2 separate regions of the Homo sapiens genome follow, and region 2 is linked to region 1. The links are contacts of gene promoters, found by promoter capture Hi-C in human tissues and cell types (Jung and others, 2019). All regions are on one chromosome and are shown on one strand. Each heading gives the region's core, a stretch centred on a gene start or on the middle of the fragment in contact. The rest is flanking DNA. Distances are from core to core; before and after follow the strand shown. Region 1 holds the start of FZD2 (frizzled class receptor 2). Region 2 overlaps GPATCH8 (G-patch domain containing 8).

Region 1 (4,476 bases), core at 796-3,295:
CTCAAGATGCTTTGAGATGGACTAGGCAGGAGATCTGAGGATCAAAAGCTCAGGCTCAAATGGAGCAGAGAGAGCACAACATTCCCATCCTTAGACTGCTCTGAGAGAAAATGGGCTTGCTGGTGGAATAGAGATGGGTGGGCTGGAAATGGGATGCACAAAAAAAGGCATATCCCCCTCGACACCCACTCATGCCCCAATTTTGAAGGAAAATTTTCATCCTGGTGTAGGGAAAAGGCAAATTCCCCAGGATGTAATAAGGAACATTTTCAAGTTGTAAGAAACCGGAACATCTTTATATCATTCATTCGATCAGGAAAAAAAAATTTTTTTTTGAATCCTGTCAAACCTGGATCCCTTTGTATCCATCTACTTAGAATATTTTTTCCTTCTCCCTACTCCTTTCCTCTTTTTGTTATTTTTCTTCTTCTGCTGTTGTTGTTTAAAACAATTCTTTTCTATATTGGAGCAAGAAACATTTCACCAGACTGTGAGGATTTGGCCCATACTGTGAAGCAAAGGGGCTTTCTAAACTCAATTTTCTTTCTTCTTTTTAAGTCCCCCCTTTCCCCTGTCCCTCGGGAGAGACAACAGAAAATAATTGATCCATCATCCAGTATCAGGCCCAGGAGATTTACATGCAAATTCCTCCTCGACCCCTTTCCAAATTTAAAATCCTAGAAGGGAAAAGAAAAATTCTAAAAGTAGCAGGAACCCTGCTGGCCACACCCCACCCCTTACCAGGTGAGAGATGTGGAGGGGATAATTCACCACAACCCCCCAGTTTCCTCCCGCGTCACACACGCCACCCCTCTCTGGTGTGGAACCACTTAAGATTTGGGTAAAACTCCCCTCTCGCCCTGGAGACGGGATCTGGAAGCTTTTAGGGGGCGGAGGTAGAGGTGGGGAGGCAGAAGGAAAATTCCCTCAAACGTTCGTCAGGCCTAAGAGAGTCGTCCCTTCACTCAAAATTGCCCGTCACCCCCCGCCCCCCACCATTAACTTTCGATTAAGACCTCCTCCTTAGGGCAACTAAACTTTACTTTGCACAATTAAGATTTGCCGCAGAAGAAGCGGGAGGGAGAAGCCGCAGCTCCGGGCCATTCTCCTTTCCCTCGCTCCCTCCAAGCCCCCCGCCCCAACCCTCCAGCTCCGGGCCTCCGAGTTCCTGAGTTTTCTCACTTTGAGGTGCCACCGAACACAAAGAACCATAATGGGCTCCTTTGTGTTGGCTACGGGGCAATTACGCCTCGGAGTCCTGGTCCCTTTAAGAGTCTCTTAAAGAGACAGGATCCCATTTTTCAGAGGGTTTTTTAAGGGTGTGTGGAGGGGGAGGGCGAGGGATCTACGTGTAAAGTGAAGTGAAACTTTCGCCTGGGCTCCAGAAAGAGCGGACAGAAAAGGTCTTTGTAAATTGTTAGTTTTTTTAAAGTCTGTTTTAATTTTTAAATTTGAGATTTTTCACTCGATTTGAAAAATTGGACTAGGAATAGGTGGGGTTCGAGGATCGGGGGCGGGGGCAAGGGTTTAAAGAGTCCCCACCCGGCAGAGCACCTCGGCCCGGGAAGAGGAGTGAGCCAGGGTCGAGTAGTGTCCCCCGATCTCGCCGCGGCAACTCCGGAGAAATCCCGGGCTGGGCAAACAGCCCTTAATATAATAATAGCTTGTCTCTTTAAAAAGCAAAAGGGGGGGAAAGTTTTGTTGGCATCTGGTTTCTGATCTCATTATGTTGTGGTCGACCAATCCAGCCCTCGGGCCTGGTCCTCGGGTTTAAATCTGATTGGCCGAGAGCACATTTTGGGTTGGTGCTTAGAGCTCGACGGGGCGGTTTCAAGGATCCCTTTTTTGGGGGGCTGAGGAGAGGGCGGGGCCGCCAGCGGGGGCCCCCTTGAAACCGACTAATTGGGATCGGAGAGGCCGAGGTGAGGGCTGGAGGAGGCACAAAGAAGTCGCTGGGTGCAGAAGGGAGGGGAGAGGGGGAGCTGAGAGGCGAGAGGAGGAGGAAGAGGAGAGAGGGCAGCAGCGCGCGGTGTCTCCGGCTGCTCAGTCCGACCGCGGCAAGCAAGCGGGCAGGCGCACCGCCCCCTCCCCCGCCCGGCCTCCCCAACTCTGCGGCCGCGAGTAAAGTTTGCAAAGAGGCGCGGGAGGCGGCAGCCGCAGCGAGGAGGCGGCGGGGAAGAAGCGCAGTCTCCGGGTTGGGGGCGGGGGCGGGGGGGGCGCCAAGGAGCCGGGTGGGGGGCGGCGGCCAGCATGCGGCCCCGCAGCGCCCTGCCCCGCCTGCTGCTGCCGCTGCTGCTGCTGCCCGCCGCCGGGCCGGCCCAGTTCCACGGGGAGAAGGGCATCTCCATCCCGGACCACGGCTTCTGCCAGCCCATCTCCATCCCGCTGTGCACGGACATCGCCTACAACCAGACCATCATGCCCAACCTTCTGGGCCACACGAACCAGGAGGACGCAGGCCTAGAGGTGCACCAGTTCTATCCGCTGGTGAAGGTGCAGTGCTCGCCCGAACTGCGCTTCTTCCTGTGCTCCATGTACGCACCCGTGTGCACCGTGCTGGAACAGGCCATCCCGCCGTGCCGCTCTATCTGTGAGCGCGCGCGCCAGGGCTGCGAAGCCCTCATGAACAAGTTCGGTTTTCAGTGGCCCGAGCGCCTGCGCTGCGAGCACTTCCCGCGCCACGGCGCCGAGCAGATCTGCGTCGGCCAGAACCACTCCGAGGACGGAGCTCCCGCGCTACTCACCACCGCGCCGCCGCCGGGACTGCAGCCGGGTGCCGGGGGCACCCCGGGTGGCCCGGGCGGCGGCGGCGCTCCCCCGCGCTACGCCACGCTGGAGCACCCCTTCCACTGCCCGCGCGTCCTCAAGGTGCCATCCTATCTCAGCTACAAGTTTCTGGGCGAGCGTGATTGTGCTGCGCCCTGCGAACCTGCGCGGCCCGATGGTTCCATGTTCTTCTCACAGGAGGAGACGCGTTTCGCGCGCCTCTGGATCCTCACCTGGTCGGTGCTGTGCTGCGCTTCCACCTTCTTCACTGTCACCACGTACTTGGTAGACATGCAGCGCTTCCGCTACCCAGAGCGGCCTATCATTTTTCTGTCGGGCTGCTACACCATGGTGTCGGTGGCCTACATCGCGGGCTTCGTGCTCCAGGAGCGCGTGGTGTGCAACGAGCGCTTCTCCGAGGACGGTTACCGCACGGTGGTGCAGGGCACCAAGAAGGAGGGCTGCACCATCCTCTTCATGATGCTCTACTTCTTCAGCATGGCCAGCTCCATCTGGTGGGTCATCCTGTCGCTCACCTGGTTCCTGGCAGCCGGCATGAAGTGGGGCCACGAGGCCATCGAGGCCAACTCTCAGTACTTCCACCTGGCCGCCTGGGCCGTGCCGGCCGTCAAGACCATCACCATCCTGGCCATGGGCCAGATCGACGGCGACCTGCTGAGCGGCGTGTGCTTCGTAGGCCTCAACAGCCTGGACCCGCTGCGGGGCTTCGTGCTAGCGCCGCTCTTCGTGTACCTGTTCATCGGCACGTCCTTCCTCCTGGCCGGCTTCGTGTCGCTCTTCCGCATCCGCACCATCATGAAGCACGACGGCACCAAGACCGAAAAGCTGGAGCGGCTCATGGTGCGCATCGGCGTCTTCTCCGTGCTCTACACAGTGCCCGCCACCATCGTCATCGCTTGCTACTTCTACGAGCAGGCCTTCCGCGAGCACTGGGAGCGCTCGTGGGTGAGCCAGCACTGCAAGAGCCTGGCCATCCCGTGCCCGGCGCACTACACGCCGCGCATGTCGCCCGACTTCACGGTCTACATGATCAAATACCTCATGACGCTCATCGTGGGCATCACGTCGGGCTTCTGGATCTGGTCGGGCAAGACGCTGCACTCGTGGAGGAAGTTCTACACTCGCCTCACCAACAGCCGACACGGTGAGACCACCGTGTGAGGGACGCCCCCAGGCCGGAACCGCGCGGCGCTTTCCTCCGCCCGGGGTGGGGCCCCTACAGACTCCGTATTTTATTTTTTTAAATAAAAAACGATCGAAACCATTTCACTTTTAGGTTGCTTTTTAAAAGAGAACTCTCTGCCCAACACCCCCACAAGGTTTGTAATTAAAACTGTAAATAGTCTTTGTAAATTTAATTATATATATTTTCTATTTAAAAGAAAAAAGGAGAAAAAAAAACAGGGGTGTGGGCGCCAGGACTGAAGAATGAGGTGTGTGTGTGTTGGGGAGTGTAGTTGGGGGGAGGGTTCTCTTTCTTAAGTGCCCTTCAAAACCCGCCCCACTTTTGGAGTTTTTTGGTGATATGGCAGGGCTGGGCCTGATGGGAGAGGCACCCAGCCTGAGCGCTGTTTTTGTTGGCTTTGAGTCGTTAGGAGTTTGTTCCATTCAACTAATATAAAAGCCAAATTTGTGAGCCTCCTCTCTGACGCTGGGCCTGTGGAAGCCGTTGGATATTTTTGAACAGGA
Region 2 (4,476 bases), core at 701-3,200, 110 kb before region 1:
ACTGCACTCCAGCCTGGGCAACACAACGACACTCCTTCCCCCCGCCCCCCAAAAAAATCAAAAGCCCGGGCACGGTGGCTCAGGCCTGTAATCCCAGCAATTTGGGAGGCCGAGGCGGGTGGATCACCTGAGGTCAGGAGTTCAAGACCAGCCTGACCAACATGGTGAAACCCTGTATCTACTAAAAATACAAAATTAGCTGGGCATGGTGGTGCATGCCTGTAATCCTAGCTACTTGGGAGGCTGAGGCAGGAGAATCGCTTAAACCCGGGAGGCGGAGGTTGCAGTGAGCTGACATCGTACCATCGCACTCCAGACTGGGCAACAAGAGTGAAACTCTGTCTCAAAGAGACAAAAATAAAATAAAATAAAATAATATATATATACACATATATATGTGTGTATATGTATACGTATATATATACATATATATATATATAGAGAGAGAGAGAGAGAGAGAAGGAGAGAGAGAAAGAGAGTTTCTACTATATTCAAGGCACTGTTCTGGGCACTGCATATAGTGATGATGTAAAAAAAAAAAAAAACACCACAACCGCAGCACCACGTTCCATGAATTACCAATAAATAGGCAAAATAGAGTAATCTGACCAGCTGGAACTTCAGCTGAGAATGAGAGAAAACAGAACATTTGTGAAGCTAATGCATAAGCAGTTAAAAAAGCTTAAAAATGTCTGAAGTTGTCTTTTAAAGATATCTAAAGTTGTCTTTAAAGACGACCTTAATGAAGTGCAAGTAAATATAAAAGCCATCAAAAAGTCACAAAATCCATGTTTTTTTTGAGACAGGATCTTGCTAAGTCACCCAGGCTGGAGTGCTGTGGTGCCATCTCCGCTCACTGTAAATTCCAGCTTCCAGGCTCAAGCAATTCTTGCCTCTAGGCCTCCTGAGTAGCTGACACTACAAGTGCCTGCCACTACATCTGGCTAATTTTTGTATTTTTAGTAGAGATGGGGTTTCACCATATTGCTCAGGCTGGTCTCAAACTCCTGGGCTTGAGTGATCTGCTCACCTCAGCCTCCAAAGTGCTGGGATTACAGGTGTAAGCCAATGAGCCCGGCCTAAAATCCACTTTCAAAAGACAATTAAAACTGGGCTGGGCTTGGTGGCTCACGCCTGTAATCCCAGCACTTGGGGAGGCCAAGGCAGGAAGATGCCTTGAGGACAGGAGTTTGAGACCATACTGGGCAATAGAGCAAGACTCTGTCTCTCCAAAAAATTTTTCTTAAAAAAATTAGCTGGGCATGGTGGCATGCACCTGCAGTCCTAGCCACTGAAAATATTGAGGCAGAAGGACCACTTGAGCCCAGGAGCTGGAGTGAGCTATCATCGCACCACTGCACTCCAGCCTGGGTGACAGAGAAAAACCTTGTCGAAAAAGAGAAAAGAGGGGAAAAAAGACCATTAAACTGATAAAGGCCAAGAACCTACACTGACATCTTTAAAGTACTTATTTCTTCTTTTTAAGTAATGCAAATACATATGTGAAAATCAAGATAAAAAAAATTACGCAGGTGATTCTCTGATTTGCAAAAGTATTCAAAATAGGATTCAAGTCATGTTAATGGACTTAAATATCATTTCATTTATTGAAACTGTGATCACATGAAACTTTCAGAAACACTGAATAAAAAATGGTACATTTATTTCCAAACCAAAGCTTAATTTTTGCAAATTTCTCCTGAAAATGAGTCTTTAGGTGGCATAGAAACAATTATTACTTTCAGCATCGTTTAGATATTTTTCTAAGCAACTCTAACATATGATATATGCTACCTCTCAGAAAACATTAACTGAAAACATTGAGCACATTACTTAATCCCTAGAGAGTTTTTAAGGTTTAAAAAAAAAGGAAAAACTTTCTACCCAAAATAGAGTTCAAATTATCCAGTACTACAAAAACCTACTATATTCTTGCCATGGCCTTTTTAGTGACCTATACAACAACCAAATTAATTTGATTTTTTTCTTCCTTTATTTATTTTTTAAAACAGGGTCTCACCATCGCCCAGGCTGGAGTGCAGTGGCATAACCACGGCTCACTGCAGCCTCAACCTCCTGGGCTCAAGTAATCCTCCCATCTCAGCTTCCTAAGAAGCTGGGACTACAGGTGCACACCACCACATGTGGCTAATTCTTGTTATTTTTTGTAGAGACGGGATTTCACCATGTTGCCCGCCCAGTTTGTTCTTGAACTTCTGAGCTCAAGCAATTTGCCCACTTTGGCCCCACAAGGTGCTGGGATTACAGACATGAGCCATGGTGCCTGGCCAATTTGATTTTCAAATACAGATGTTTTCTAAGGCACACAAGTTTAATTATGACCTAAACGAATTTCCATCTGATACTTTCCATCTAGGATAAAATAGTTCAATTTTAATCATATAACTAAATATATTAATAAACAGGAACAAAGGTGGGGCAAAAGGCTTTAGTGAAAGTGTTGTTAAATCAGAATGTTAGGCCTGGGAAGGATATCTCATCCAGGGATAACATGATATCCTCAAGCCCTTAGAAGAGATAATAAAGAGAATTCATGAGTTACTTTCAATTAAAAAAAAAAAACCTAAAGAAAATCATACTTTTACATGAGATACAACTGTTTTAGCTAAAATTATACTGACTCACTAAAGATTGCCTCAAGCTAACCACCATGCTAAGATCAATTTGTTTTTTCAAATGGGAAAGCCAAATTAATAAATACAATTTTGGGGTAAAATAGTCTAAAACATGGGGCTGAGGAGATACGGAAAAAAACAGTTAAGTCTTTAGTTTAAAGAAAAAAAAAAGGCCAGGCATGGTGGCTCACGGCTGTAATCCCAGCACTGTGGGAGGCCAAGGCAGGCAGACTACTTGAGGTCAGGAGGTCGAGATCAGCCTGGCCAACATGGCAAAACCTCGTCTGCATTTAAAATACAAAAATTAGCTGGGCGTGGTGGCATGTTCCTGTAATCCCAGCTACTTGGGAGGCTGAGGCAGGAGAATCACTTGAAACTGGGAGGCAGAAGTTGCAGTGAGCCGAGATCACACCATTGCACTCCAGTCTGGGGCAACAAGAGAGAATCTCCATCTCACGGGGGGAAAAAAAGTGGTAGCACTTTTGTGCCCTGAGTTTTACTTATGTTTATATCCATATCTGACACAGTATGTAGGCCAGAATGGCATTTAGTTAAAAAGCATTTGTTGACTCAGAGAATGAACATGTTCGTAGCGGGTCTGAAACTTGTTCAACTGTAAATACTTAGTCATCATGATGCGCGCCGCTTAACATCACAAGATACTAATGATTTAACTCTCATAATCAAGGAATTATTTTATCAAGTAGAACATATCACTATATTAGAAAGGTCTCCATATATCAAAAAATATGTAAACTTTTATAATGAAATATTTGAGTTTTACATTACTGGTCATTAGAGCCTTAAGGCTTGTTCAATTTCATTTCTTGTTATCACTCAGTAGTCAAGGAGAAGGAAGCATCAAATGTTTAAGAAAAAAATACTAAAGAACTTACATTCAACATATATCGACAAACTTTTAAAAAACTGAATTGGAAAGTTGCCATAACCAGTTTCAGTGAAGGAAAACCTCAAGTCAGCCCCCATAATAATGGTGTTTTCCAGGAAATTAGGTTTAGGGTAAGTGGTCTGTTAGAAATTCTGAAAACATTTTTCCTCTTTTTAAAAAACAGGTCACAGTAAAAATTAATGGCTTCCTTCAAGTACCCAGTACACTCCTATATACATGTAGGTAGACCAAAAATTACCAGTGAGCTCCAATCTATGTGAGTATTTCTTTTTCTTTTTTTTTTTTCCCCCCCTAAGATGGAGTTTCACTCTTGTTGCCTAGGCTGGAGTGCAACAGCGCGATCTCGGCTCACTGCAACCTTCACTTCCTAGGTTCAAGCGATTCTCCTGCCTCAAGCCTCCTGAGTAGCTGGGATTACAGGTGCCCGCCACCAGGTGGCTAATTTTTTGTATTTTTAGTAGAGACGGGGTTTCACCATGTTGGCCAGGCTGGCCTCGAACTTCTGACTTCAGGTGATCCACCCACCTCATACTCCCAAAGTGCTGGGATTACAGGCATGAGCCACTGTGCCCAGCCTACATGAGTATTTCTTGATTAATGAATTCCAAAAGAAAAAATATACTTGTAAAGAGTGGCAACATGAAACTCAGGGGATCTGAATTACAGTTCTGTCACTAATGGGGCATGTGACCCATTATTAGCTATTAATTTCTTTTTATTTTTAGAGACAGAATCTCACCCTGTTGCCTAGGCAGGACGGAATGCAGTGAAGTCATCATAGTTTACTGTAACACTGAACTCCTGGGCTCAAGTGATCCTCCCACCTCAGCCTCCTAAGTAGCTAGGACTACAGGCACTCACCACCATGTGTGGCTAATTAAAAAAAAAAAAATTTTTTTTTGTAGAGATGGTGTCTCACTATGTTGCCCA

Evidence for each region. Contacts are between HindIII fragments. The study calls those that stand out against the background at their distance.
Region 2: a contact is called between a fragment that was not itself captured here and the fragment with the promoter of FZD2 in region 1, in 2 of the 25 tissues and cell types used here (IMR-90 fibroblasts and mesendoderm cells).

Annotation. Positions count from the first base shown.
Region 1 is chr17:44,555,439-44,559,914 of GRCh38, forward strand. FZD2 (frizzled class receptor 2) reads left to right here and starts at 2,046. Exons shown (of 1, transcript NM_001466.4): 1 at 2,046-4,476. The coding sequence starts at 2,251. The coding sequence ends at 3,948. RefSeq lists enhancers at 541-1,310, 1,311-2,078, 2,296-3,256 and silencers at 1,753-1,852, 2,251-2,497, 2,743-2,792. The HindIII fragment of the contact is 9,533 bases long and covers 1-4,476 here.
Region 2 is chr17:44,441,684-44,446,159 of GRCh38, forward strand. All of the region lies in intron 3 of GPATCH8 (G-patch domain containing 8), which reads right to left. Among named protein-coding and RNA genes, the nearest start is that of ITGA2B, 54 kb to the left of the region's middle. The HindIII fragment of the contact is 3,607 bases long and covers 148-3,754 here.